7 separate regions of the Homo sapiens genome follow, and regions 1, 2, 3, 4, 6 and 7 are each linked to region 5. Evidence: promoter capture Hi-C in 16 types of primary human blood cells and fetal thymus (Javierre and others, 2016). All regions are on one chromosome and are shown on one strand. Each heading gives the region's core, a stretch centred on a gene start or on the middle of the fragment in contact. The rest is flanking DNA. Distances are from core to core; before and after follow the strand shown.

Region 1 (3,798 bases), core at 316-2,815, 340 kb before region 5:
CCCCACTACCCTGCAACTGAGACCCCTGCTTACGAATGCCAGGAACGCTCTCCACAGGGATCTGCCTCACGCCCTCCTTGAAGCAGCTGAGCCCCGGGTAGACCTTGCGGATCTGGGCCTGTTTGCGCTCAATCAGCTTCTTGATGATCTGAGGGAAGGAAGGGACTGAGGGGCCAACTCCAGCCCCAACAACAACCCCTCCCAGGGCCACAGTCGGAGCCACTGGCTGCACCCACCCAGCTGCAACGCCACCTAATCCAGCACCTCCCCTCATAACTTCCCCAAGGGAGCAGAGCAAGAGCCAAGATCCTGGCCTGCCCCTCCTCACTCACACACATATATGCATGTAGACGTAGAACAGGTCTACACACGTGTGCTCGCCCTCTGCATGCCCATTCATGAAAAATCCCACAGATGCGCATGTGTGCACACCACCTCTTTCTGCTTCTTGATGATGTGGGACAGCTCCGTGTAGGGGATGCGGGGATTCAGCTCACACTCCATCAGCGTCGCTCCCTCGTAGTCCTTGATGTAGCCCAGGTAGCGGCTCTTGGGCACCTTGATGTCCTTGGAGAAACCCTGGGGGGTGGATGGTCATGACCCAGTCCATCCATAAGTATTTCCCAACTTCTGTCGTCCCTCACCTGGGAGCACCAGAGGAGTAGCACGTGCCACTTGCCACCTCCTGCTCCTGAACCTCCTCCTGGGGCACTGTGAGGGTTCAAACTGTCCCTGGAAAGGTCCCAGGTCAGCTGCCCACTCCTGACTCATCCCGAAGAGTCCCCCAGTTCCTCCAGCCTGCTCTACTGGCCCCCCAGTTCCTCTAGCCTCCTCTACTGGCCCCCCAGTTCCTCCAGCCTCCTCTACTGGCCCCCCAGTTCCTCCAGCCTGCTCTTGGCCCCCAGTTCCTCCAGCTTGCTCTACTGGCCCCCCAGTTCCTCCAGCCTGCTCTACTAGCCCCCCAGTTCCTCCAGCCTGCTCTAGTGCCCCCCCCAGTTCCTCCGGCCTGCTTTACTGGCCCCCTAGTTCCTCCAGGATGCTCTACTGACCCCCAGTTCCTCCGGCCTGCTCTACTGGCCCCACAGGCCCTCATTCTCCCCTGGGGCAATGGCAGCAGAGGAAAGAAGATAGGCATGGAGACTCTCCTGGCAGGTGTCAGGTGAAGTAGGGGACGCAAAGGGACTCCTACTCCATCCACAGAGGGGCTGGACAGAATTACCCCAGCCTCCAGGCAAAGGACCGGTGTGGGACGAGGCTACGGGTCACCTGCTTTTTGAAGTAGCCGATGGCGTACTCGTCGGCGTAGGTGAGGAAGTAGAGAATGTTGTGCTTGATGTGATACTCCTTCAGGTGGTTCATCAGGTGGGTCCCATAACCCTGCGGGGGAGGGAAGCAGGACTCACCAGGAGCTGAGGATGGGCCTGGTGCTGGAGAGGTCTCAGAGACCAGAGAAGAGCGGGTAGATTGGAAAGGAGGTAGAGAGAGCGAGAGCATCCAGGCAAAGAGGAAGAAAGGCAGCTGACAGAGGAAGGGGAGCTTATGGGGAGAAAGTGAAGGGTGCGGGCTTTCTAAGCTCACTCTGGGCTAGGTGCAGTGCTTCCTGTTTTACAGACCGATTCTCAAATTAACCCCAGAGGCGAGTATTACCACCTTTATTTTACAGAAGAGAAAACCGAAACTCAGCTACGTTAGGAAATGTGTTCAAGGTCAGGCTGCCAGCCGTGGCAGGGCCGGGTCCAAACCCAACACAGGCCACTGATTCCCAGTCCCTGGGCCTCAGAGTTGGGAGAAGCGGGAGAGGGAGTCACCAGAGGTCTGAGCAGCAGGAGCAATGCCTCCCACACGTCAGGGCCAATGAGGCACCACACAGATCTGAGGTATGCGACACACAGAGCCAGAGACCCTACGAGTGGGTCTGTTGTAACAAAGGACAGAAGCCAAAACTATCAGCATAGGGCTACTGTAATAATGATTAGTTTGGCTGGGCGCGGTGGCTCATGCCTGTAATCCCAGCACTTTGGGAGGCCGAGGTGGGTGAATCACTTAAGGTCAGGAGTTAGAGACCAGCCTGGGTGAAACCCTGCAACATGGTGAAACCCTGTCTCTACTAAAATACAAAAGTTAGCCAGACGTAGTGGTGCATGCCTGTGGTCCCAGCTACTTGGGAGGCCGAGGCAGGAGTATCACTTGAACCTGGGAGGTTGAGGCTGCAGTGAGCCCTGATCATGCCTCTGCACTGCGGCCTGGGTGAGAGAGACCCTCTTTCAAAAAAATAAATAAAAAATAAAAAGTAAAGTAATTAATTCCCCCATGTATGTAAATGTTCTTGTGATGCAGAAAACCCAAGTCCACAGGTCCACCAAAGTGTGGCTGCTGCTTGGGCTCCGTCTGTCAACAGGTGGTTTCCTAATCCACAGTTATCAAAGTACGGCTGCCACCTTGTGGGGATGTGAGGAACGGGCCGCTAACTAAGAGAAGAGCAACGGGCTGCTGCATGCCACACATCCTGCTGCTCCGAACTGGCCCAAACTCAGGAGTGGGCCGTGGACTGGGGCTGGGGCCGGGGAGCCGCGCTCACCTTGACCTGCTCATTCGAGGTGACAGCACAGAAGACAATCTCCGTGAAGCCCTGGGTGGGAAACATGCGGAAGCAGATGCCACCGATGACCCGCCCATCCTTGATCAAGGCCAGAGTCTTGTGCTTCCTAAGAGAGAGGGGGGCATGTCATAGCCCCTGACTGTCCCCTTCAGGTCCCCAGAGCCCTGGAAGTCTGAGCTGTAGTCAGGGTTGGGCAGTGAGAAGTAAGAATGCTCAAAGGATGAACCTCAGAAGTGGGGAGCAGGGGATCCCCAATTTTGAGGAGTGAAGAGGCCGAGGAGGAAGGGAACTGGGTGTGCTGCCCTGGGGGAGGGGCTCTCTGGGGGACGCACGGGTCAAAGACGAGGCGGGCGATATACTCCTTAGGCATGCGCGGCAGCTGGTGGGAAAAGACATTCTGCAGCCCCACGAGCCACAGCAACACCCGCCGGTTGGCCTTGGGCGTCAGTGAGTTGCCGATGACATGGAACTCGATGATGCCGCGGCGCTCCTCCAGGCGGGCTGTCTCATCCCGGGCCGCATTGGCCGAAAGCAGGCTCGTCTGGGCACAGAAGAGGGGTGGTGAGCCGGGGTCTCAGGTTGGTGGGGGTCCCCCAACTGGTCAGCAGGTCGGGCTGCCCACCTCAGGCCCCAGCATGGCAGCAGGGTCAGTGATGGTCAGCATGACCTCATTGACCAGCTCCATGGGGATGTCACCCATCACACGGAGCCGCTTGGCATCCTCCAGGGTCAGGTTCTCTGGGAGCGTCCTCTTCTCGCCTATTGGGGAGGCAGGCAAGGTTGCTCAGGATCAGTAAAAAAGGTTTGGGAAGGAGTGAATGAGGGTCAGAGGTCAGGGGTCAAGTATCCACCTGGCATAGGCTCGGCCCCTGCAGAATCCAGACTCAGGGAGCTGTTGCTGCCCCCACCCATGCTGGGGCTGAAGATGGGGGTGCTGGGAACAACCGCTGCACTGACTGAAGCTGAGGAGAGAGAGAGACGTCAGGGATGGGGGGCTGAAGCTGAGGAGAGAGAGAGAGAAGTCAGGGACGGGGGCTGAAGCTGAGGAGAGAGAGAGTCAGGGACGGGGGTGCTGAAGCTGAGGAGAGAGAGAGAGAAGGCAGGGACTGGGGGGGCTGAAGCCGGTGGCAGGTCCCTCAGTGGGATCCAGGGCCTCCGGCCCAGGTGAGCTCTCTTCCACCCAGGAGGCTTAGCTCAGC
Region 2 (4,096 bases), core at 722-3,221, 430 kb before region 5:
CCCCACCCCTACCAATTGTTTTACTTCCTCTTCCTGCTCAGGGAGCAGATGGGCCTCACTGGTTGAGATGGAATAGAATAACTGGGCTATGAGTCACCAGCCCACTTTGTGACCCAGCAAGACCTTTCCCCTCTCTGGGCATCAGTTTCTCATCTGTAAGATGACCAGAGTTGCTTAGATGATCTCCTAGATCCTTTCCAGTTCTCTTGATTTCGTAAAGCCAATGGCTTCTCCCTCTTTAAGGTGCTATGCCAACCAGCCCTGGAGGCTGGGATCTGCCGCTCCCTCCAGCCACCAGGGGGCAGGAGTGCACTACCTGCTGTCAGTCACCAGAGTGGCCGCTCAGTGCCCAGCCCGCCAGCCTCGCTCTTGGAGGCTGCTCTTTATCCTGCCTGTGGTTTTCAGCTCAGAGCTGGACTTCTATTTATAAGTTACCTGTATTTATATTTATATGCCCGCTCTCATGGTGAAGGCTGGACAAGGTGCTCCTCTGGCCCCTCCTTCTTACCTCAGATGCCTGAACAGAACAAGGCAAACCCGTAGCAGCCTCTCAGGAGCTGACAGGTCCTCTTTCGGGGCTCAGGAGGGTGGGCACACACCCAGCGGCCTGCAGAGTAAGCTTATTACCCACAACTGTGCCCGCTTTGTGCTTCTAAGGTGCACACCTAGCCTAGGTGAGACACTGCAGCCAGGCAACCACCGACACACGCCCCTTCTCAAAGCCAGAGGTGAGTGGGGCAGGTGCCCGGGGCTGGGTGAGTGGAATTAGGACACACACAGGCTTGGGCTTCAAGTTCATTTATTGATGCATTGGTTGGACACAATAAAACCACAATTGTTATCAAAAAGTTTCCCTCCCCTCCCCCTTTTTCTGGTTCTCCCATTGGAAATGTCTTTAAAAAACAAAAAAAAGATACAGGGGGATACTGGCAGGGTCCCATATTGTGGGGTGGGGAGGGGGCAGTGCTGCAGTGGAAAGGAGTTTGTGACATTGACATTGACAGCATGAAAATGGGTCTTGCCAGTGCATGTGAGACTGCCTCCCAACACTCAGCTTCACAGTGGCAGGGGCTGGTTGGGAGAAGGGAAAGCTGAATTTAGTGCTAGGACCAGTTTGGAGTGGGAAGCTGTAGGGGAAAGCTCTTCCTTTGGGAGCTCTGCGGGGGGTTCGGTGTTAGCTGAGTCCATAGTCTGAGGGAGACCCACACCCGCCCTCCAAGAGTTGGGGTTCAGGAAGTCAGAGAAAGGCTAAGAAGAAGAGCTTCTGAGGGATGAGTTACTCCCTCAATATTAAGACTGGGCTTATCAGCAAGTATCACTTGAACCAGGGAGGCAGAGGCTGCATGCAGTGAGCCAAGATTGCACCACTGCACTCTAACCTGGGCAACAGAATGATACTCTCAGACAGAAAAAAAGACTGGGCCCATGAATGCCCAGAAGACTTAAGATTAAAACAAAACCCTGGGCCCAACCAGAACATCACCTCCTCTCTTAGTCCCACCCCTTCAGAGCAGATGAAGCCCCCAAAAGCTTTCAGAACCAGCCCCACTACCTCCTTGGCTCTGCCCCACCTTAGCACTGCTGATCGAAGGACTTTTGGGTCCCCCTTTCTCCTCCATGGTCCTCTGTCACACTCCCATGGTCACCTTGTCCTGACAGCCTTGAGCCTGCTGCAGCTAGAGACCCCATCCCTATCTCCAGTGAAGCCCCAAAGCCTAGGAATAGAGGTCAGAGAGTCGTCCCCTGGCTAGGAGAGGATGGCTTGTAGAAGCTAAGATTCCTAGAGTCTGGCCATGTGGGTCTTGGGTGGAGGAAAGTGAGAGCACCACATGGCTGGGGCTGAGATTTTGCATAGATCTTTGGGGTCTGTCAGGGTGGGAAATGCAGGCAAGCCTAGGATTAACCCTGGAAGGCCTGCGAAAGGAGGGTGGGGACAGTCCTTGGAAGGCAGCTGCCCTTAAAACTAGCCCAGCTCTTTCTGGATCGGGCAGGACCCCTGAAGCTGTTCACAGTCCCTGTGGCATGTAGGAAACCAAGGTGTCTCAGGACAGGAGGAGACAAGGAGTGGCTATTGGGAAATCAGCTCTGGCCTCCCCATGAGGGCTAATAAGGGGCAAGGACGATAGGTCCTGTGGCAGGGCGGACAGCTCCTGCTGGGGTGCGAAACAGAGCTGGGCCCAGGATGGGAGCCGGGAAGAGGGTAGTGGCTGCTGTAGGGGCAGGGCGGAGGGCCAGGGGCCCTGGCAGAGCACAGATGGCAGTGGCTGCGGTGGGGAGCGGGCTGGGCAGGAAGCGGGCTGCCAACGTCTTGGTGAGTTGCTTCTGCAAGGCCAGTTTAGACTACACGGAAAAGAAAGGAATGGACACAGTCTCCACCCCAGAAAACCCCACCCCCTCCCTGGGGCCCATCCTCAAGCTTTTTGCTGCAGGGAAAGCGTGCCTTTTAGAGTTCCAAACCTAAATCCTCCTCCCTTCCCACCCCCAAACATTCATTCCGAAGGGCTTTCTCCACCACCTGTCTTCCTGTCCAGAGGGAGGAAAGTCTCAGCATGGGAGAAGGGAGGAGGATTTACGGGATAGAGATGGTCTCTAGGAGATGCACGCCCACCCCTCACTCTTGCCCCTAAGATGACTATCCCAACCCACCTCCCCGGAAATTCCTCTGCGCAGATCCCAGTTCCCAGGCCTAGCTCTGTCACTGCCCAGCAGCCTCATTGCAGGGTGGCCTCTTTTCCTGCCCCACCGCAGCCCCCCCATCTGGCCCTCCCAGCCCACCCTCTCCCCTCCTGACCCAGTCCCAGCTCTGTTGCCTGGAGACAGATACCTTGAGGATACTCACAGCCAGCGCTGCGTGCTTCTGCAGCTTGCTGTGCTGGCTGGAGGGCTTGGGGGTCTTCCCGGCCAGGCGGTCTTTGTGCCTCCTGCTGCTCATGTGCTAATGGACAGACAGACAGACTGGGAACAAGATGACAAAGCCCAAGGACCCCAAGACCATCATCCTCGACTCTTCCCCTTCCTCTATCCACAGCTCATACATCCAAAGCACACAGACTGGGTCCTCACCCTGGGGTAGGCCCTGGGAAGGGGAGGTGAGTCTTGGCCTTTGCCCTTAATTGGCCCACTGGCCTGCTGGCCTCGCTTCTCCAGCCTGCTCTGCTGTGCCCTGCCTGCTCTCTTCAGGGTCCCTCCCTCTGCTGCCCTGCCCCCCAACCCCCTCCCCTGGCTCCAACCCCAGTCACAGCCTCACTTCTCCCACCTGCTTCAGTTGGGTCTCTGAATTGACCTGGAGCTGACAGAGAGCACAGTGGAAGGCAGGGCTGGGCCCCTGCCGGCCGCCCCGGCCCCCTGTGACTCTCTTGGCTTTGTGTCCGGCACCTCCCCTGGACACCGGGCGGCCCCGGCTCCTCCGGGGAGCCCCTCGCTGACCTTCCATCATCCACCGGTGCTTGGCTCCTGGAGAGGGAAGAAGGCAGTCTCTCAGCAGCAGGAAGGGGTTGCAGGGGCCACAGAGACCCCCTCCACACTCATGCAATTTGGCTCTCCCTGTAAGCCTCACGGCTGCTCTGTGCACACATCGCCCTCCAGCCACACGTGGTTTCCCCTCCCAGCTTCTGTCCTTTCATGCCAGCCCCTCCTATGAAAGGCCTTTCTGCACTACAAATAGCTGCCTTCCCCTTTGCTTTGATCTCAGTCCTTTCCTTCTGGGTGTAATCTAAGGAGAGAGGCAGATGTCTCCTGTCTCCTGTGGAGTGACCCTTCAGAGATTTAGCGACCTTCAGTTCTTGCTGCCTCAGACTTCTCTTCCCAATTCTCCTTCCCCAAGGAGTAATGGGAGGACCCAGAAACGTCCGTTCAGTAACACACAAGCACAAAGCCTCCGCCATCCAACCCTTGAGCGAAGCACCCAGGAACTCAAGCCTGCCCTCATCTGGCGAGGCTTAGCTTCTGTCCCACCCTTTCCCTGGGCTCCAGCTCCTGGGACTACTGACCTGTGTTGTGAGCCTGAAGCTGGGAGGCCGAGTTCACTGTCACCTTACACGTGGGGCAGTAGAGGTGCCCCTTCTCACTCCTGCCTTCCCCACTCATGCTGCTTCCC
Region 3 (3,521 bases), core at 774-3,273, 460 kb before region 5:
GGCCTTCATGAGATCATTAAGCCTGAAGGAGTTCATACAGTAACAGTTATCAACCCATTGGGCAAAAGGCTACTTCTCAGAGAGAAGCTACTTTTCTCAATTTTTTTTAATTTAATTTTTGAGATGGAGTTCTTTGGTCGTCCCCCAGGCTGGAGTGCAACGGCAGGATCTCAGCTCACTGCAACCTCCACCTCCTGGGTTCAAGCGATTCTCCTGCCTCAGCCTCCCTAGTAGCTGGGATTACAGGCACGCACCACCACACCCAGCAAATTTTTGTATTTTGTAGAGACAGGGTTTCACCATGTTAGCCAGGCCGGTCTCAAACTCCTGACTTTAGGTGATCTGCCTGCCTTGGCCTTCCAAAGTGCTGGGATTATAGGCGTGAGCCACTGAGCCTGGCCTATTTTTTTTATCTTTTTGAGATGAAGTCTTGCTTTGTTGCCCAGGTTGGAGTGCAGTGGCACAATCTTGGCTCACTGCAACTTCTACCTCCCGAGTTCAGGCAATTCTCCTGCCTCAGCCTCCCAAGTAGCTGGGATTACAGGTGCCCGCCACCAGGCCCAGCTAATTTTTGTATTTTTAGTAGAGACAGGGTTTCGTCATGTTGGCCAGAGTGGTCTGAAACCCCTGATCTAAAGTGATCCGCCTGCTTTGGCCTCCCAAAGTGCTGGGATTACAGGCATGAGCCACTGAGCCTGGCCTATTTTTTTTATCTTTTTGAGATGAAGTCTTGCTTTGTTGCCCAGGTTGGAGTGCAGTGGCACAATCTTGGCTCATTGCAACCTCTACCTCCCGAGTTCAGGCAATTCTCCTGCCTCAGCCTCCCAAGTAGCTGGGATTACAGGTGCCCGCCACCAGGCCCAGCTAATTTTTGTATTTTCAGTAGAGACGGGGTTTCGTCATGTTGGCCAGAGTGGTCTGAAACCCCTGATCTAAAGTGATCCTCCTGCTTTGGCCTCCCAAAGTGCTGGGATTACAGGCGTGAGCCACCAGGACTTGGCAGCTACTTTTAATAATATTTGGCAAGTAAATGTTTTCTAGCGTAAGTATCAGTTCTTTCTCACCTATGGCTTTTGTATAATAATTATAAGCTTCATTGTAATCTTTCTTGGCATAGTATGCATTTCCTTGTTCCTTGAAAGTCTCTGCTTCCCTGAAAATGAAAGAGAAAGAGAATCATGTTACTTTACAAAGGGAATAACCTCTGTAATCTTACAGGAGGAATCTTTGGTCTAGAGCCCGCAGCACACTGAGCTGAAAGTTAGTGTGATACTTGAAGGATTTATAGATTTGTTGAATAGGCCAATGGACCAAAAGGAGGTGCTAATGAAAGAATCCAAGTTCTTCAGATGCTCCTTTTTGTCACTTAGATACATTCAAACTAAATCAAGAAAACCCCTCTTATGTTCCTGCCTCACCTCACTATTTCTGCCTGTAGTCATCCTCCCCGCAGGACAAATTTAGACATTCCCTCATGGCAAGGAATTTTTCTATCTCCTTCCACAGTGTCACAACTGCTGCCTCTTTTGCAAACTTACAGGAAAAATGGTTACTCCATTCAGGGCAACTTATTTCTCAATGTGAAATAGGTCACATCCTCAAGAGTTTTAATAATTTCACCTCCTGAAAAGTGGCTCATGCATTTGTCACTGGAAGAACAAGCAGAGCAAAGGCAGGTGGCAAAAGAGTTAAAAGCATAGCATGTTGGTGTTTAAGACAGGAACAGAGCTGAGTGACAGCAGAGACTAAGACCGTGGATGACAGGGACATATGAGGTACAGGATGCCAGTGCCATACTATAAGGAGCACCCATCCACTGGTGTTCCCTCTTCCCATCACAACAATGTAGGTACTTGCTGCCCTCTTTGTACTCCCTCCAGTACCTTATATATTCAGCAACTGGGTGATAGCAGTATTTTTTCCCTACCTCTAAGATCTATTTTTTGAAACTGTGCCATTAGACAAAGTATACTTTCCTAAACTTTGTCCTAAAGGAACAATGTTATATAATTGGGAATTAGATTCCCGAGCAAGTACCTAGAATCAAATCAGACATGACCAACAGTGTTTTAAAAGAACTAGTAACCTCTATCAAGATACTCAAAATCATTCCACTGCTCAAGTGATAAAGATAATTCTTTACTGAAATGATTACTGCAACATTAACTAAGTACCTGATCATTTTTGTTATGAGAAACATCTTTCTTTTCCTGTTGTTCACATGCAAAAAAGAACCTAGTTCGGGGTTGCCTGAAGTTGAGGCAAAAGTCCTAGTTCTTAAACCTTGGTGATGGTACAGCAATTTACAGCTTGAGTCTACGGATATCTGCATTAGGGAGATTTGTGATTTACTTAAGTATTTTAAACTACAAACTGGTAAAGTCGCCCTCCTTTTATTGAGGTGATCCTCCCTCTCCATTCTTCTCCATCACTGTCCTGGCAAGCCCTACTAATATGAAAAGGCTGCTAGAAGGAGAAGGCAAATGGGAATGACCTATAAATGCTGACAGCTGTGAAATGTGATGGATATAAATCTGCTTGAGTAACTGTCTATACCAACTATCACAATGCTGAAAAGAGGCCTTCTGCTATGAAAAATCTTCAAGAAAGATCCCCCAATTGCAAGATTTAAAGAACCAACTGAAATCTTGCTACATGGTATTCACCATCCTGTAACTCTAAATTAAGCAAAGTGCTTATAAAAACTCTCAGGAGCCTATCCTTTAAGAGCAGACATGCCAAGGGATTTGAACAAAGGACTTCCCCAAAACTGGATTTCGATTAGTCAAACTGCTGTGAAGAAATGGAGTAGCAAATTCCAAAGTAAGACATTAGGCCCAAACTCCATCAGAGAAGATCTAGCCTCTTCTTCAGTTGGCTAGTGGCTAAGAATATACAAATCTTTGAGGAAAACGAAGACATCTAGGTACCTGGGGAGACACTGTGTCAGCAGTATAAAGCTTGTTAGTCGAAAGTGAAATAATGTACAGGGCTGCTGAAAGGTGCCCCTAGTCTCCTCCTTCCTAAGACACTACCCCTATGGAGGTCGGGGAGTTCAGGACTGGCTTCTAGAAAAAATGCAAAGGATGATTTTGGTGGACAGTTACTAATAACTACTGAGGCCAGGTACTTTCCATACAGTATCCTCTATAAAACACAGTCCGGTGAACTTCATTATTCCCATTTTTCAAAAGAGGAAATAAGGCCTGGGGGTTAAATAACTTGCCTGAGGTCAGGATGTTACCCATGTTTGTCAGAATACAAAGCTTGTGCACTTTCTACTATGCCAAGCTTTCTCTCTAATGCTTGCCTCCGCTTACTGCTAACTATTTTGAAAATTAGTCTGTACTACGAGGAGTAAGACATGGACAATATATGTAAGACATGGACAATACATATAAATTTGTTTAAACTAAGACACACAGTACACCCCACATGTAATATTCAACCCCAGAACCAAAATCGGTATTTAAATAAGCTAAATGACATTCCTAACAATTAGTCATAGAGGAAGCAGGGCT
Region 4 (4,067 bases), core at 1,139-3,638, 490 kb before region 5:
GTGCCCGCTCCGCCCCCCGGGCTATGTAAAGCGGCCGGGCTCGGGTCGTGCCACCGCTGGACTCCCGTGTCCCTCCGCGCAGGCGGGCGGCCCCGGAGCGCTGGTGCCGGCAGAGGCGGCGACGGTGGCGCCCCTCCTCATCATGGTGAGAGGCCGGGCGGGGCCGGGCACGGGGTAGCACCAGGGCGGGAAACGAGTGTCGGGGCCCCTCGGGAGGAAGCGTCTTGCAAACGAGGACCCGGGGCTCCGGGTTCGACTTCCAGTTTTCTTGGTACTCAGGGCGGCCCTGAGGTCTGGGAGAAGCGGAGGGGTTTTGGGGTGCCGGAGAGGCCGCTGTAAAGGGAAACGGTGGTGTTTCTCAGGAGGGAACTCGGGACCGCAGAAGCTGCTGCGCCTCTGGGAGCCTGGGTGGGCCTGGGCCGGGAGCCCGGGAGCTGCTCCCGACCCCACGCAGGCCCGCGCTGGGGCAGCCGCTTCGGCGCCCCCTCCCCGGGCCCAGTCTCATCACGCGGAACCGCTGCCCCGCGCCCGGGTGCGGGCGGGAGGTGGAGCCAGTTCAGAGGAGGGGACCCTTTACGGTAAAAGCTGCCGTCCCTTGTGGCTTCTAGAAGATAGGAAAACAAGTGGCTCCGAGAGGCGCTTCTGACACACAGCACAGCGGCGGGTAGAGCTGGATCCTAATTGCAGGTGCCCTGTGCTGCCCTGTTCTGGACAGGCACAAAGACCACGACTTTGTGGGGGCCGGGAGAGGGTAGAGGAGGAGGTGGCAGGCTTGGTGAAAGAGGGCCTTTGTCCAGTGCTCTCCTGCCCTGCCCCCCACCAGCCCTTCTGTGGGACCATTGTACCCGCATGCCAGACAAGAGAGTATTATCTGTTGCGGCCATTGTTGGGGGAAGGGAGGCAGTCTTGGGGTAACCCTTCTCCACTCCCCCCCTTCTCTGTGCACTCAGCCGTGGCAGCTGTGGCTTGGCCCAGACACAGAGACCCCCACCTCCAAAGAGGACGTCCTTAGTAGGTGCCAAGCATATAAGAGTGAGGCCAGTCCCAGAACCGCAGGCTCCTGGCGCGCCCCGCATGCCTCCAGCACGTTTACCTTTCCGAAGTGGCAGGAATGGGGAAAGCGCACGCTTAGGAGAGCTTCAGACAAGCTTCCCTCTTCCTCCTCCACGACCAGAAGCGGAAAGGTGCTCCCGGACCGAAAGGGAAAGAAGGTCCAGCACTGCCCCGCTTGGGAAGGCACCCACAACCAGTCTAGGGACTAGGGGTAAGGCCGGCGGGGAGCCCGCGAATGACCTGGGCTGACATCTCTTCCCCTCCTTACACAGAACAGAGGCTTCTCCCGAAAAAGCCACACATTCCTGCCCAAGATCTTCTTCCGCAAGATGTCATCCTCAGGGGCCAAGGACAAGCCTGAGCTGCAGTTTCCCTTCCTTCAGGATGAGGACACAGTGGCCACGCTGCTAGAGTGCAAGACGCTCTTCATCTTGCGCGGCCTGCCAGGAAGCGGCAAGTCCACGCTGGCACGGGTCATCGTGGACAAGTACCGTGATGGCACCAAGATGGTGTCGGCTGACGCTTACAAGATCACCCCCGGCGCTCGAGGAGCCTTCTCCGAGGAGTACAAGCGGCTCGATGAGGACCTGGCTGCCTACTGCCGCCGCCGGGACATCAGAATTCTTGTGCTTGATGACACCAACCACGAACGGGAACGGCTGGAGCAGCTCTTTGAAATGGCCGACCAGTACCAGTACCAGGTGGTGCTGGTGGAGCCCAAGACGGCGTGGCGGCTGGACTGTGCCCAGCTCAAGGAGAAGAACCAGTGGCAGCTGTCGGCTGATGACCTGAAGAAGCTGAAGCCTGGGCTGGAGAAGGACTTCCTGCCGCTCTACTTCGGCTGGTTCCTGACCAAGAAGAGCTCTGAGACCCTCCGCAAAGCCGGCCAGGTCTTCCTGGAAGAGCTGGGGAACCACAAGGCCTTCAAGAAGGAGCTGCGACAATGTAGGTGGCAGGTTGGGGCCTTATAAGCCCACCTTGCTGGGCACAGGGTGCTGCGGGCAAAGGACCATCATTGTACTCAAAGGATGGAGCACGAAGCAGCAGGAGGCAGAGAGAGGCTCACCTCAGCGGGGGCAGGGGCAAGCGGTGCGTCCCAGTGGTAGCCTTGGGGAGTTGGCAGCACATTGGGAACACGGGGGCTTCCCAGAGCGCCTTTCCTCCCACCACACCTATCCTTCTAGCCCTCTTCTCTCCGACACCCTTTTCCCAGCCTGAATGTAGACCACTGTCCCTTGTCTTGGAGGTGGGAAAAACAAATTACTGTAGTAACAGGAAACATGTCCTCTTCTAATGTAACCTTAGAGGGGGAATCAAGCCCAGTGTTTTCCAACGCATTTTTAGCAGCAGAATCATGTTCCAAAAAATAATAATAATAATCACATGAAATTGTAAGCTGCAAAAAAATTAAAACTAGGACTATTGTGGCTTCACTGGGGATGGTTCTCAGGCCTCGGACTGCTCAATTTACTCATGGGTTTGTGGCATCTGCAGCTCCAGAGGACACAAGTCTCACACTTAGGCCAAAACCCGTTTTCAGATGGAAAAACATGGACCCAGGAGGGATGTGGGGTTTACGGGCTGGAACCCTGGACTCTGGCCACTCTAGCAGGGTTCTCTCTTGGCATGGGCTTTTTGCTCCAATGATAGGTTTGAGATAAAGAAGGGTCCTGGTGGCTCTCCTGGAGTGACCTGTTGGAGAAGTGCCACCCACTAATCCATCTATATGCCTTTAGGCCATTTCTGGTTGCCTCCAATTTTATTTATTTATTTATTGTGACACGGAGTCTCCCTCTGTTGCCCAGGCTGGAGTGCAGTGGCGCTATCTCAGCTCAGTGCAACCTCTGCCTCCCAGATTCAAGCAATTCTCCTGCCTCAGCCTCTCGAGTAGCTAGGACTACAGGTGTGCACCACCACGTCCAGCTAATTTTTGTATTTTTAGTAGAGACGGAGTTTCACAATGTTGGCCAGGCTGGTATTGAACTCCTGACCTCAGGTGATCCGCTTGCCTTGGCCTCCCAAAGTGCTGGGATTACAGGCGTGAGCCACCACCGCACCCAGCCACCCCCAATTTTAGATGATCTTCATGCCTGAAATAGCCCCACTCTGGTTTGTTGACATTGTGTATATTGCACAGAAGCAGGGAATTTGTGCCTGTATGGGTTCTCAGAGAGCTTTTTTCTCAGCTCCTAAACTTGAACTCTGCAGTGAACTGTGGTGCTTGCAGTGACATTGGCCAGGAGCAAGCCCTGTACCTGTGAGCTGGTGGCTCTGCCCTGGAGTGACTACTGCTCAAAGTTGCTTTTAATATTTATTTATGAGACGGAGTCTTGCTCTGTTGCCCAGGCTGGAGTGCAGTGGCATGATCTCGGCTCACTGCAACCTCCGCCTCCTGGGTTCAAGCCAATTCTCTGCCTCAGCTTCCCAAGTAGCTGGGAATACAGGCGCCTGCCACCATGCCCGGCTAATTTTTTTTTATTTTTGTATTTTTAGTAGAGACAGGGTTTCACCATCTTGACCAGGCTGGTCGGTAGCACAAAAGAAAGGAGGGGCCCTTGGCCCAAGATGGGACGAATCAAGCTTGACAGGATGATTGCCAGATCTTTTTTTTTTTTTTTTTTGAGACGGGGGTCTTGCTCTGTCGCCCAGGCTGGAGTGCAGTGGGGCAATTCGGCTTACTGCAACCTCCATCTCCCGGGTTCAAGCAATTCTCCTGCCTCAGCCACCCAAGTAGCTGGGATTACAGGCACCCGCCACCATACCTGGCTAATTTATAAATTTTTAGTAGAGACAGGGTTTCACCATGTTGGCCAGGCTGGTCTCAAACGCCCCGCCTCAATTTCCCAAATTGCCGGGATTACAGGTGCGAGCCACTATGCCCAGCCTATTTTATTTGTAAAGGAAAACTGGATTTTTCTGCCCAGGATTAGAGCAGGAGAAATGTAATGGGCCAGCAAGGCTGCTCTCAGGAGAGGCCTTCCTCCCCTGTGGAGGGCGAGACATCCTCATGGGGA
Region 5 (3,750 bases), core at 855-3,354:
AGCATGGAGGGAAAATAAATAGAACACTGAGGAAAGATTGATGGCAGGAGATGGAAGCAAACAGAAAAGGAGTTCTGAAACAATATTCTTTCAAAGAAGCCGTGAAAAGAGTTCAAGGGAATTGAAGTAAGTCCACAGGAAAGGCTGTCTTAAAAGTGGAGTATGAAAAATTTGTGGTTAGCAAGCAGCTGACTGAGGTTAATTTTTTTTTAAGTCTCAGAGGAAGGAAATGATATTGTGTAACAGTTTTCTCTAACTTGGCAGGCTTTTAAATGTGGGTCCCGATCTGTCTTGCCAGAAGGGTTGAGAGCTAGGGAGCAGGGAGAAGGAGGGTATGGGTCTCTCCAAGACTCTGTGTCTTAAGAAGGTTGTATTGAAGTCAGGTTATATCTTCACTCACAATATGAGACAATAAATTCAAATAAAACGTCCATTTTTGTCCCCTTATTTTGTTTAGGCTGGTAAAGCAGGTTTGATGATGTTTTTGTCAGGTTGACAAAATTATCAGCAACAAGTTTTTATCTGGAATATCTCCCTCATTACACTTGAATTTCAACAGGGTTCCACCACCCAGGAAGACAGAATAACCGGTTTTCTGAGTTTTTCCTGATACAATTCTGGTTATCACAAACGACTTGAGATCCCTACTCTTCTTTAAAAGGGCAAGAAAAGGGAATCAATATCAATATTTGATAATGGCATTTAAAAAATAATAGACATCACTTTTGCGTTTAAAAAATGTTTTTCAATATTTAATTTACAAGTTGAGTACAAGCCATAAAAAATGTTTTTAAAATAAATTTGAGGAATTGAAAACTCCTAAGTGGTCAATTGAGCCCACATGAATCTACCAAACAAGACTGAAATGTACTTTCACAACATATGGTCTGATGAGGTTTTTCCTGTTAAACAGAGAAAAATAGACCCGGGGAAGTTGCTGGAAGGCATGAACCATGTACCATTTAAAGAGAGGTTTTCCATACTTATGCAAATGAGACCCCGTTAAAGACTCTACTACAGGATCTAAAGCTAGCCGCTCCCCAGTCTGGGGCTCAAATGTTCTCATCTGTAAAATAAGGGAAAAGAGAAAGGGTGGTATATGTGTCTGCGTATTAATTATTTGAGTGTGTGTGTGAATTCTTTGGATATGAAAATAAAGAGAGAAGACATTAATTATTTGGGTGCGTATGTGTGAATTAATTCTTTGGATATGAAAATAAAGAGAGGGCCGGGCGCGGTGGCTCACACCTGTAATCCCAGCACTTTGGGAGGCCGAGGCGGGTGGAGGCCAGGACCAGTCTGGGCAACATGGCGAAACCCCATCTCTACAAAAAATACAAAAATAGCCGGGTGGCGTGGTGCGTGCCTGTAATCTCAGCTACTAGGGAGGCTGAGGCAGGAGAATCCCCTGAACCCGGGAGGCGGAGGCTGCAGTGAGCCGAGAACGCGCCACTGCATTCCCGCCTGGGAAACAGACCATCTAAAAAAAAAAAAAAAAAAAAAAAAAAAAGGCCGGGCGTGGTGGCTCACGCTTGTAATCCCAACACTTTGGGAGGCCGAGGCGGGTGGATCACGAGGTCAGAATTCGAGACTCAGCCTGGCCAACATAGTGAAACCCCGTCTCTACTTAAAAAAAAAAAAAATACAAAAATTAGCCGGGCATGGTGGTGCGTGCCTGTAGTCCCAGCTACTTGGGAGGCTGAGGCAGGAGAATCGCTTGAACCCGGGAGGTGGAGGTTGCAGTGGGCCGAGATCACGCCACTGCACTCCTGCTTGAGCAACAGAATGAGACTTCAAAAAAAAAAAAAGAAAGAGAAAAGACAACCTACCCCAGTATAAGGGGTAAGAAAAAGGATTCAGGGAGGCTCAGGAACTTAAGGCCTCGAGCACCTGCACCTCCAGCCCCACCCGCTAACCCTCCCCAGCGTGGAGATACAGCACAGGGGCCAACATGGCGTCAGCACGCTGGGTCTCGCCTGCGACCCCCGTGACTCCGCACTGCTGCAGCCCGGGCGAGGCTGCGCCCCATTGGCCAACTGCAATGAGGTCATTGCGGGGGCGGGGGCCGGCGGCGGCGCAGGGGCGGGGCTTTACGGACGCAAGCACGTCGAAGCGCTGCTCCTGGAGCCGCGGAGGGTGCGGGTTTGGCTGCGGTGGTTTCTGTGGCGGTTGCTGTGGCGGAGTTTGGAGGTGAGTGGGGGCTGTAGGTTTAGCGCAACAGGGAGCGGCCCTCGATGGACGTAGGAAATCCTTCTAAGAGCCCCCTTGATTGTCAGAGGAATTAGCGGGGATCTGACGTCTTCGAGATAAAATGGGGGTTCGCCCCCTCCTTGGGCACCCCTCCTCTGCCCTGAGGAACCGGAGGCTCACTGCCCTTTGGAAGCCCCGCATCTCTTCCCTGCTTTAAGGGGTAGGCGGAGGAACCGGAGGTTATTGGATAGGCAGAAGAATTTAGGGGGCTTCTTAAAGGGTTTCTCAGTTTGGGGGTTTTCCTCTCCTTTTTTCCCATCTCAAGGTAGATGAGCCTGAGTCCAGAGAATTCCTGCTCATTGGGTAGACAGGAAATGAAGCAGGTGAATACCGTGGGAGGAGGCGAGGACCGGATGACAGGAGTGAGATTCTTCTAGGCAGGGCGCGGGGGCGCTGTAGTTGGACTCATCTTTTGCAGAATTGCTGTTTCTTCATATTTTGTTTTGTGATCGTCCAGAACTACTTTGGCCTAATTAGTTTTCTGTTAGCCTCCATTGCTATAGAGATATTCTTGGGAGACCTATAATCATTAAAGAGCAGGAGGACGGAGGCGACTCGTTGGAGGCTTATCATTATCCACAGCTCCTGAACTATGCTGACCAGGCCTAATTTTATGTGTTTAGAGGTTGTAGAATCTCTCTTTGTTTAAGGGTGGTGCCGGTAACAGCTGATTTGGATGATTCAGATGTACAGAATCTTAAAGTCAGCCTGCATATTCTCTTGAGAAGTCCTTGCTTATGTCTGAGCTTGTGTTACTGTCTTGAACATCACATGCACAAAGGTTTGTTCGTTCAGATTTCTCAAAATGTCTCCCAGCCTTCCAGAAGAGTAAATCTTCCTTTGATGTCAGACTCATCTATCAGTACTCAGTATAGATGCCCTTATGACACTAAAAATACTGTGCATTTTTCTGAGTTTGGATACTGGACAGGCTGTGCCTTACATTAGCTGATCGAGAATAAATAATTGCAGTTTCAGGACCACTGATAGCGCCAGTTGTCTCATACCCGGCAACAGTAAGACAGCACTAAAACGAAACCTTTATTGGCTCATGAGATTTGACAGATGGAAGAATGTAATTAATCTTGAAGGTAGGGTTGAGAAACAGAAAGCTGCAGAGGTGGAAGGCTTATTCTCTGTGGCTTGATAAAACTGCTTTGTCATTATCAGTGTGTTCCTGTCATGCTTGATTTGAAATTGAGCTTAATATGCAAACTGGTTGCTTTTTCCAGATGACGGTTATTTGTTTGAATTCCTAAGTGGGGAAATATTGTTTTCTGAGGAATCTGGAAGATTAAACCCTTTAGTGTAGCCATAGCTTTAGGATAGTGCCAGAACTTTGGGCTTTTAGAAATGCGCATTGTCAGTAGAAGGGAGAAGGATAGTTACAAGGCAGACATCTTTATGAGAGGGTATTGAAGGCCTCTTCTGTTTGTTTCCTGCACTAGCAAAAACAGATTGAGCAGTGTGAAACTCACTGCCTCAATATTGTGTCCTGGG
Region 6 (4,115 bases), core at 1,616-4,115, 320 kb before region 5:
CCCACCTCTTCCCCAAAAGTACAAGGAAGGAAGTACGGGGTGGTGGGTCTCAATTAGCAACCAGAAATACCATGTAAATATTTCAAAGTTATGTCATTTCAATTTTTCATAGTTTAAGACGCTTTCTCATTTCACCTCAGTCAATGAAGAGACAAGGTCTGTGCTTTCTGCTTCTTAGAGATGCCTTCCTCACAGTGCCTATGTGCATACTAGGAACTCAAAGAGTGCTGATGGAAGGAAATAATTTTTTTTTTTAAAGAAACAAGGTCTCACTGTGTTGCCCAGGCTAGAGTGCAGCGGTGTGATCACAGCTCACTGCAGCTTCCAAGATCCTACTGCCTCAGCCTCCAGCAGGTATACACCACCACACCCAGCTAATTAAAATTTTCTTTCTTTCTTTCTTTCTTTTTTTTTTGCAGAGATGGAGTCTCACTGTGTTGCCCAGGCTGGTCTCCAACTCCTGGCCTCAAGCAACCCTCCCGCCTCAGCTTCCCAATTGCACAACTATTATCTCCTTCAAGCTTTACGACAACCTCCATTTTTCAGATAGATAATTTAACATTCATATATTAAATGTCCTGCTCATGGTCACCCAGCCTACAGGTGACAGAACCCCCCAGACCCACCATAGACATGATGCCATCCTCCCTGCTGTGGAAGAACAATGGAGGCAGTGCCTGCCCTATGTTTGGTTTAGGGCTGCTAGGTGAATGAAACTCTCTTTTTTTGTGGCAGCAACTTTGCTGGTCCAGGAAGGTCTAGCTCTAGCTGGCTCTAGCAACAGTCACAGTAATCTTGCAGTTTCTGAGTGCCCTCAACAGTGGGAGGAGCCGCCCAGAGCCAGGCAGGGCGACAGCAACAGAGGGAAAACCACAGTGGAATTACAAGTTGGTTATTACCATGAATCCACGTGACACAGAGTCTTGGCTGAGCAATGGTCTGTGGCTGGGGCACTGGAGGAGGAGGTATGAATGGACTGGGAGATGGTAATAGAAAACCAAGTCTCTGATTCCAAAAAAACCAAAGCAGCTGGTGCTTAGGGTACCGAGCTGGGAAGTAACCAGCACCTACAGGTCGAGAAAAATACAGGTAACAGATCTAAGTCTTGTCACTACCAAACCACAGGGTTAGAGGAACAGAATGTGATTTTTAAAAACAAGCCAGAAGGGGAGACAAATAACTCTCCTGCAGTGGTTCTCAACGGTGTCTGTACATTGAAGTCATCTGTGCAGCCAGCCCCTCGAGATTCTCATGAAGGTTTGGCACAGAGCCCAGCATCTGCAGGTGAAGCACACCCACTGAAGCACAGCCAGGGCTAGAGCATCTGGCAGAGAGAGAGTGAGCACAGGCACTGGCTTTCGGCACCACAGATGTGACTGTCTCCTGCCACTTCTGAATCACTTTGTAGAAGCCACCTGAGCTGAGCCTCAGTGTTCTCATCACTAATATGGGGCACACCAGGGTTAATGGCAGTGTTTGCCAGCTGTCTCACACACATCATGTTGAGTAAACAGTAGCTAAGAGTACTGACAGGGTTATTTGTAACACTTTCTCCAAGACTGTTGGTGAACAGACTCTGGCCATCCCAATGAACTGAGACAGGCTCTCCCTGGCATGAACTAGCTGGTGACATGTTCTGCCTGGTCACTGATCCTGCCTTCCAGAGATACCTGAGCAGGCACACCCAGCACTTTTTACGGTCTGTTGCCTAGTGGTTTGCCTGGCCCTGCTTGGTGATCAAATGAGCAGTGGTGTCCAACCTTTGCAGTCAATAAAGCCCAAGGAAGCCAATTTTGCTAGGAAGGGCGCACGGAGATATGAGGGTGTCTAAGCCAGGGGAAGGCCAGACCGAGAGCCCCAGGAAGCATTATACCCTCTCCTCCCAAGCCTGGGAAACTGAAGACATGGCAGGTAGTAAAGGTGAATGCATTCACTGAGCTGTCCTGCCTCCCAGGGATGTGTGTCTTACTGGCAATCTTTCTTTTTGAACCCCTGGCAAAAATTATCCACTTGTGCAGTCAGGTGATGGAATTATAGCCAAAACTGACATAGTTTTCAAAGTCTTCTTTGAGACAAAAATCAAATTCTCCATAAGAGCTAAAGTTACAGTCAAAGTTGATTTTTTTAAATTAGCCAACGTGGTGGTACACGCCTGTAATCCCAGCTACTTGGGAGGCTGAGGCACAAGAATTGCCTGAACCCAGGAAGCAGAGATTGCAGTGAGCTGAGATCGCGCCATTGCACTCCAGCTTGGGGCAAAAGAGTAAGACTCTGTCTCAAAAAAAAGTTGACTTTTTTTCACAAGTACAATGGCCGTGCTGGAGCTTCAGATCTAGGGAGAAAGATTCTCCTTGCCATGGACCCACCATCCAAATCAGAACCCTGGCTTGTTCAGAGGCCACTAAGAACAAGCACCAGTCCCAACCTCATGTCTTCCACAGGAAAGGGGAGAGAATGTATAAGGACTTGGAGTCACACTATTTTCCTATTAATACAATGCACATGAAAGCGCAGAAGGGATCTAAGCTCCTAAACACCCTGGCCCTGTGCACAGGCACTTCTGGGCCAAGGATGGAAGAGAAAGAGAAAGAAAAATGGGACACTGTTCTTCCCTGCTCCGGGGTTCCCTCTGCTCTGGACACTACAGGTCAGTGGGTCTCAAATTCTTTTTTTTTCTTAAGTTTTTTTTTTTTTTTTTTGAGACAGAATCTCGCTCTCTCACCCAGGCTGGAGTGCAGTGGCACGATCTCTGCTTACTGCAACCTCTGCCACCCAGGCTCAAGCGATTCTAATGCCTCAGCTTCTAGGAGTAGCTGGAACTATAGGTATACGTCATTACACCCGGCTAAATTTTTGTGTATTTTTTGTAGCGGCGGGGTTTTACCACGCTGGCCAGGCTGGTATCAAACTCCTGCCTCAACCTCCAAAAGTGCTGGGATTACAGGTGTGAGCCACCTGTAATTTTTTTTTTTTTTTTTTGGAGATAGAGTCTCACTGTTGCCCAGGCTAGAGCAGTGATGCAATCACGATTCACTGCAGCCTTGACCTCCCAGGCTCAAGTGATCCTTCTATTTCAGCCTCCAGTCAAACTCTTCTTCACCAGAATCACCCAGGGCCTTTAGAAAATACCCTGACCAACTGAATTAGAATCTCTAGAGGTGGAGTCCAGAAATCAGTATTTTAAAAATAAGTTCCCAGTGATTTTAAGCAGTTGATCGAAGCACAAGAGCTACAGTTGATATACGAAGGAGGGAGAAATCCAAGAGACAGAAAGGCACCCCCGATCAGTGCTGTGCACAACTCGTAAGTGTGCATGTGTAAGTCCATGAATGTGGGAGGGGTCTTCAGCTTCACTCAGCAACTGGAGCCTTCTCCAAGACACTAGATGCTGCTGCAATTCCTCCCCCTAACCTCCCTTTGAAAGTTTCACCTTTCCTCTAATCCACGAAGTCACCCACTTCATATGTTTTGTCCTTCCTGGTAAAAGGGTGAGCAATTCCAGCTGATGAGTGTCTCGTGTACTTCCTGTTTGCTTTAGAGACTTCCTCTAGCTGAGAGTCCTGGCACAGCCTGGAGAGCAAGCTGATTAGGGAAACCAATCAGACTGTTGACCAGGGCAGGCGGGGCGTAGAGACTAGCTCACTCAAGGTTAGCCAGGTGGCCTGAGAACCAAGTGACCCCGCCCAGGGTCCCCTGCAGGTGCTTCTGACCAGTGACTCTTCAGCTACATTTTACCCCGGAAAAGGGCATTCCTGAATATTTAAACAAGAGTCCAGCAAAACAAAACAAAATCAAACCAAAAAAACAACAGCAGAAAGGAGTTGTTAAAGAAAATGGAGCAAGAGACACAGGAGGAAGTAACTCGGTTCAAAGGCTAAAGTGGAAGACATTTGATTTAAAAGCCAACTGGAGTCAAGGTTTTGCAAATGCTTCCCAGGCTCCGATTAGTTGGGGAGATGATTTACCCATAGGCTCAAGAACACAGCTCTTCCTCAAAAGGGAAAACCACTGCCAGCACACAGAAACAGAGGACAGACTCACAGCAGGACTATCCAGGCTTCTAGCTGGTTGCAGACCCAGAGGAAAGAAGAATCTGAAGCAACGCCAGCCACGAT
Region 7 (3,685 bases), core at 491-2,990, 280 kb before region 5:
ATGGAGAAGCATAGTGGAGTGGGGACAGGCAAGGACTTGAGGGCTGGGGGAGGTTTATGGACACTTCTTCTTGTGGATCGGCTGCAGATGAAGAGTCAAGCAGAAGAGTTGAGGGGGCAGGAGAGCAGGGACTGAGGGAGGCTGGGCTGTGCTAGGGGTTGACGGAGATAATGGTACCTGGTAAGTGTCCCATATTCACTAATATTACCCCAAGTACCATCTGCATTGTGGTTATCAATATTGATTAGCCCTTCAATCTTGGAGATGGGCAGGGCTTATCTTCTGGGTGGGAGCAGCCTGGCAGCTAGGACTGGAGGCTCTGGGGCAGTGCCTGGGGAACTTGGTATGAAAGCCCCTCATTGCCCCTTCCTGGGCCTCCAGGAACATTCCCCACAGCCCTGGCCCTACACTGCTCCTGGACCACCTCGTGCAATTTTTCTCTAATTTTAGGTGAAGGAACTGGAAAGGAGGTGGCTCTGATTCCTCCATATGGACCCTCGCCAGGGTTTAATGCCTACCCCCAGCTCCCAGAGCCCTTGACTGCAAGCTTGAGTTCTTCAGGGCTTCCCTCAGTCAGCTGCCCTTGGGCCACTCTCTTGGGGATACTCCTGTCATTCTCCTTGGACTAGAATATCCAGGCCTGGCTCCTTCAAGTCTGCAGCTCTGCCAGTGCCTGCTCATCTTCTGTCTCTGCTCTACCTCTCTCTGGCCCCCAGTGGTATTCCTCATCTCACCAGACCATCCACTCAGGGGCCCTGGTTACCTGGGAAGCAGGGTGGTATGTTGGAAAAAATACTAGACTGGAAGTTTAGCGATCTGGTTCTTTTTTTTTTTTTTTTTTTTTTTTTTTTTGAGACAGAGTCCCTGTCGCCCAGGCTGGAGTGCAGTGGCGCAATCTCGGCTCACTGAAAGCTCTGCCTCCCGGGTTCAGACCATTCTCCTGCCTCAGCCTCCCAAGTAACTGGGACTACAGGCACCTGCCACCACGCCTGGCTAATTTTTTTTGTATTTTTAGTAGAGACAGGATTTCACCATGTTAGCCAGGATGGTCTTGATCTCCTGACCTCGTGATCCGCCCGCCTGGGCCTCCCAAAGTGCTGGGATTACAGGGTGATCCACTGCGCCCGGCCAAGCTGGAGTGCAGTGGAGCTATCTTGGCTCACTGCAACCTCCACCTCTGGGACTCAAGCAATTCTTGTACCTCATCCTCCCGAGTAGCTGGGACTACAGGTACGTGCCAGCACACCCGGCTAATTTTTTGTGTTTTAGTAGAGAAGGGGTTTCACCTGTTGCCCAGGGTGGAGAGACCTGGTTCTAATATCCTGCCTGCCCCTGCTAGGTATGTGACCTTCAGCAAGTCACTGAACCTCTCTGAGCCTCTGTACCTACCTCTGAAAAAGGATAAGCCTCTGCCCTGAAGGGTTCCCGTGGGGCTCCCATGTGATGATGAGTGTGAAAGAACATAGGGAACTGTAACGTGCTCCCAAAGGGACCTGAGAGGAGGGGCAGGGGGCTCTCTGTAGTGTCCCACTCCCCAGCTGATGGTGCCTGGTGGGCATAGAGGGGTGGGCGCACCCCTGGGGAGGGGTAGGGAGATCTGCTCAGAATGGTCAGAGCCTCGAGGCAGACGTACACACATGCACGTGTGTGGGAGCACGCACACACGTGTGCACAGCCAGGAGAGGAGGCCCACAGCCCGTTGGCGGCTAGTTAAATTCGGCTGCGTGTAGGTGGTTTCCTGCTATAGCTGAGTGCAGGGAGAGAGCACACAAGGAAACTGCTCCCCACTTGCCCGCCCCACACCCAAGGGGGCCTGGGGACACGGGGTAGCACTGCCCCACCCTGGACTTGAGAAGACCTACTATCTGCTGGCTGGGGCCACAGATGACCACTCAGGGCACCTCCAGAGTGTCCCCAGGGATCTGTGAGGACTCAGGTCCTGGCATTCTTTGCCTCTGAATTCACCCCACAGCCTCTACCTTCTTGTCTAGGTTTACTATGCTCCCCCAAATGCTTGCTGTCCTCATCTCCTTCCAGCTAAATCCTACTCACCCTTTAAGGTCTAGCTATACCATCTCCGCCTCCCTCAGGAAACCTTCCCAGACCCCTCCAGCCTCTGCCCAACAAGGGCGCTTTTGCTTCCCAGGTGCTGGCCAGACTTCAGATCATTTTTACACACACTCATGTTCCAGCCTGGAACTCCAAGGTCAGCCCAGCCCCTCTGTAGCATACCCGGGCCCCATCTTCCACCCCCATTCACCTCTTCTGTCCCTGATGTGCTCTGTGGCATTCCTGCCCCCTCACCAGTTTGGCTGTTTAGAGGCTGAATCCTTGTTCCCTTTCCCCACAGTGGCCATGCCCCACACAGTGCTTTGCAGACAGCTAAATGCTCATCAGTTGTTTGTTAAATAAAAATGTGAAAAGTACCACTCATTTGGCATCAGACCAATGCCGCCTTGGTAGCCATAGTTAGCTTTTCATTTGTCTCAGCTTCCCTCAAAGATTGTGAGCTGAGCTCCCCAGGATCACAGACCCTCGGGATCCTCCCAGTACCTAGCACAGGGCTATGCCCAGAGCAGGTGCCTGATAAATATCTGCAGATGGATTGATGGGAAGGGGCATATCTGGGTTTGGGGTCAGTCCCTTCCTGGAAGATGCTGTGCTGAAGTTGGGAGGTTGGACTGGATGGCGGGATGGAGGTCACTCACCACGGTGATGTTGAAGATGTAAAGCAGGTCAAAGGGCAGAGCAGCAATAAGGTCGATGAAGAACCAGGTGGCCAGGTAGTGGAGGCCAATGGAACGAGGAGCAGAGATTACCTGGCCGGACTGGGACACATAGGTGGTGCGGAAGTTCAGGATGATATCTGGGGGTGCAAGAGGCTATTACTGGGGGGCCTTGGCAAAGGGGTCAAGAAACCGACAAAGCTGGGAACAAGCTTTGGAGACTGGAGGAGGAGGCAGGCATGGAGAGATAGATTGGGCTTCTGGCTGGTCCTTAGGGAGGATAGGTTACAAGGCTGAAGGCTGCGGGGAGCAGGACACATGGGCCATTGGGACTTAAAGATGCAGAAAGGAAGGGGCTCTGAATGTCTGGGTCATGTGGGCCCCAGGAGTGGGTGAGGCTTGGCCAAGTGGATCCCCCCAGCCGACCCACCAGGGTGGGTGAGGCAGAAGGTCTGACCTAGGATGAAGAGCATTTCCACGGCGATGTCGCTGACAAGGGTGTGTCGCGAAGTGATGGGGGTGTCATCGTCACCCGAGAAACAGACATTGTAGGGGACGGTGACCGCAACGTAGAAGGTGGCAAGGAGGATAAGGCCGTCCCAGATGGCCTTGGAGACGCTGTAGTGGAGGAGGAGGCAGCGAGACCCCCCCACGGAGGCCACCTTGTACTCGGGCACTGATGGCTTTGGCTCAAACACGTTCTAAGGGGAGAGGGGTGGCGGTTGGGGACACTTGAGGGAAAGAGGAGCCAAGATGGGGGGTGGGAAAGGCAGGGGATGGGGAAAGTTAGCAGGTGGGCACTGCAAGGGCACTTTTGACCATGAATGAAAGGAGATAGAAGGCCAGGAGAGGGGCGCAGAGGCTGACACCTGACATTTTCTTCTCCTGCCAAGTATTTCCCAGGCCCTCCTCCTTTTTTTTTTTTTTTTTTTTTTTTTTTTTTTTGAGATAGGGTCTTG

The links. The method cuts DNA at HindIII sites, captures the fragments that hold promoters and counts their contacts. A CHiCAGO score of 5 or more calls a contact.
Region 1: a fragment that was not itself captured here is called in contact with the fragment with the promoter of ATP6V0A1 in region 5 in 4 of 17 cell types (fetal thymus, naive CD8 T cells, activated CD4 T cells and 1 more); the score reaches 6.8 in fetal thymus.
Region 2: a fragment that was not itself captured here is called in contact with the fragment with the promoter of ATP6V0A1 in region 5 in 1 of 17 cell types (fetal thymus); the score reaches 5.8 in fetal thymus.
Region 3: a fragment that was not itself captured here is called in contact with the fragment with the promoter of ATP6V0A1 in region 5 in 2 of 17 cell types (naive B cells and erythroblasts); the score reaches 5.7 in naive B cells.
Region 4: a contact is called between a fragment that was not itself captured here and the fragment with the promoter of ATP6V0A1 in region 5, in 1 of 17 cell types (erythroblasts). The highest score is 5.2, in erythroblasts.
Region 6: a fragment that was not itself captured here is called in contact with the fragment with the promoter of ATP6V0A1 in region 5 in 1 of 17 cell types (activated CD4 T cells); the score reaches 5.8 in activated CD4 T cells.
Region 7: a fragment that was not itself captured here is called in contact with the fragment with the promoter of ATP6V0A1 in region 5 in 2 of 17 cell types (activated CD4 T cells and total CD8 T cells); the score reaches 5.2 in activated CD4 T cells.

What each region holds. Positions count from the first base shown.
Region 1 is chr17:42,114,457-42,118,254 of GRCh38, forward strand. KAT2A (lysine acetyltransferase 2A) reads right to left here. Exons shown (of 18, transcript NM_021078.3): 8 at 3,451-3,561; 9 at 3,222-3,358; 10 at 2,932-3,140; 11 at 2,579-2,705; 12 at 1,267-1,377; 13 at 436-579; 14 at 34-148. Among named protein-coding and RNA genes, the nearest start is that of DHX58, 3.6 kb to the left of the region's middle. RefSeq lists enhancers at 1,325-1,860, 1,584-1,903. The HindIII fragment of the contact is 5,792 bases long and covers 1-3,798 here.
Region 2 is chr17:42,024,794-42,028,889 of GRCh38, forward strand. It overlaps NKIRAS2 (NFKB inhibitor interacting Ras like 2), which reads left to right. Exons shown (of 4, transcript NM_017595.6): 4 at 1-848. ZNF385C (zinc finger protein 385C) reads right to left here. Exons shown (of 9, transcript NM_001392013.1): 6 at 3,990-4,096; 7 at 3,257-3,453; 8 at 2,825-2,935; 9 at 783-2,340. The coding sequence ends at 2,104. Among named protein-coding and RNA genes, the nearest start is that of NKIRAS2, 6.8 kb to the left of the region's middle. RefSeq lists enhancers at 144-193, 3,964-4,096. The HindIII fragment of the contact is 886 bases long and covers 1,529-2,414 here.
Region 3 is chr17:41,999,418-42,002,938 of GRCh38, forward strand. DNAJC7 (DnaJ heat shock protein family (Hsp40) member C7) reads right to left here. Exons shown (of 14, transcript NM_003315.4): 2 at 1,065-1,153. Among named protein-coding and RNA genes, the nearest start is that of DNAJC7, 16 kb to the right of the region's middle. The HindIII fragment of the contact is 1,869 bases long and covers 1,090-2,958 here.
Region 4 is chr17:41,966,743-41,970,809 of GRCh38, forward strand. It overlaps CNP (2'',3''-cyclic nucleotide 3'' phosphodiesterase), which reads left to right and starts at 53. Exons shown (of 4, transcript NM_033133.5): 1 at 53-145; 2 at 1,326-1,998. The coding sequence starts at 143. RefSeq lists silencers at 1-235, 366-555 and enhancers at 527-1,084, 1,085-1,642, 1,643-2,200. The HindIII fragment of the contact is 2,485 bases long and covers 1,147-3,631 here.
Region 5 is chr17:42,456,774-42,460,523 of GRCh38, forward strand. It overlaps ATP6V0A1 (ATPase H+ transporting V0 subunit a1), which reads left to right and starts at 2,105. Exons shown (of 22, transcript NM_001130021.3): 1 at 2,105-2,190. RefSeq lists an enhancer at 1,725-1,814 and a silencer at 1,965-2,174. The HindIII fragment of the contact is 8,228 bases long and covers 1-3,750 here.
Region 6 is chr17:42,132,300-42,136,414 of GRCh38, forward strand. All of the region lies in intron 1 of RAB5C (RAB5C, member RAS oncogene family), which reads right to left. Among named protein-coding and RNA genes, the nearest start is that of HSPB9, 12 kb to the left of the region's middle. RefSeq lists enhancers at 954-1,003, 1,574-1,623. The HindIII fragment of the contact is 4,693 bases long and covers 520-4,115 here.
Region 7 is chr17:42,172,871-42,176,555 of GRCh38, forward strand. It overlaps KCNH4 (potassium voltage-gated channel subfamily H member 4), which reads right to left. Exons shown (of 17, transcript NM_012285.3): 5 at 3,184-3,427; 6 at 2,709-2,866. Among named protein-coding and RNA genes, the nearest start is that of KCNH4, 6.4 kb to the right of the region's middle. The HindIII fragment of the contact is 2,391 bases long and covers 546-2,936 here.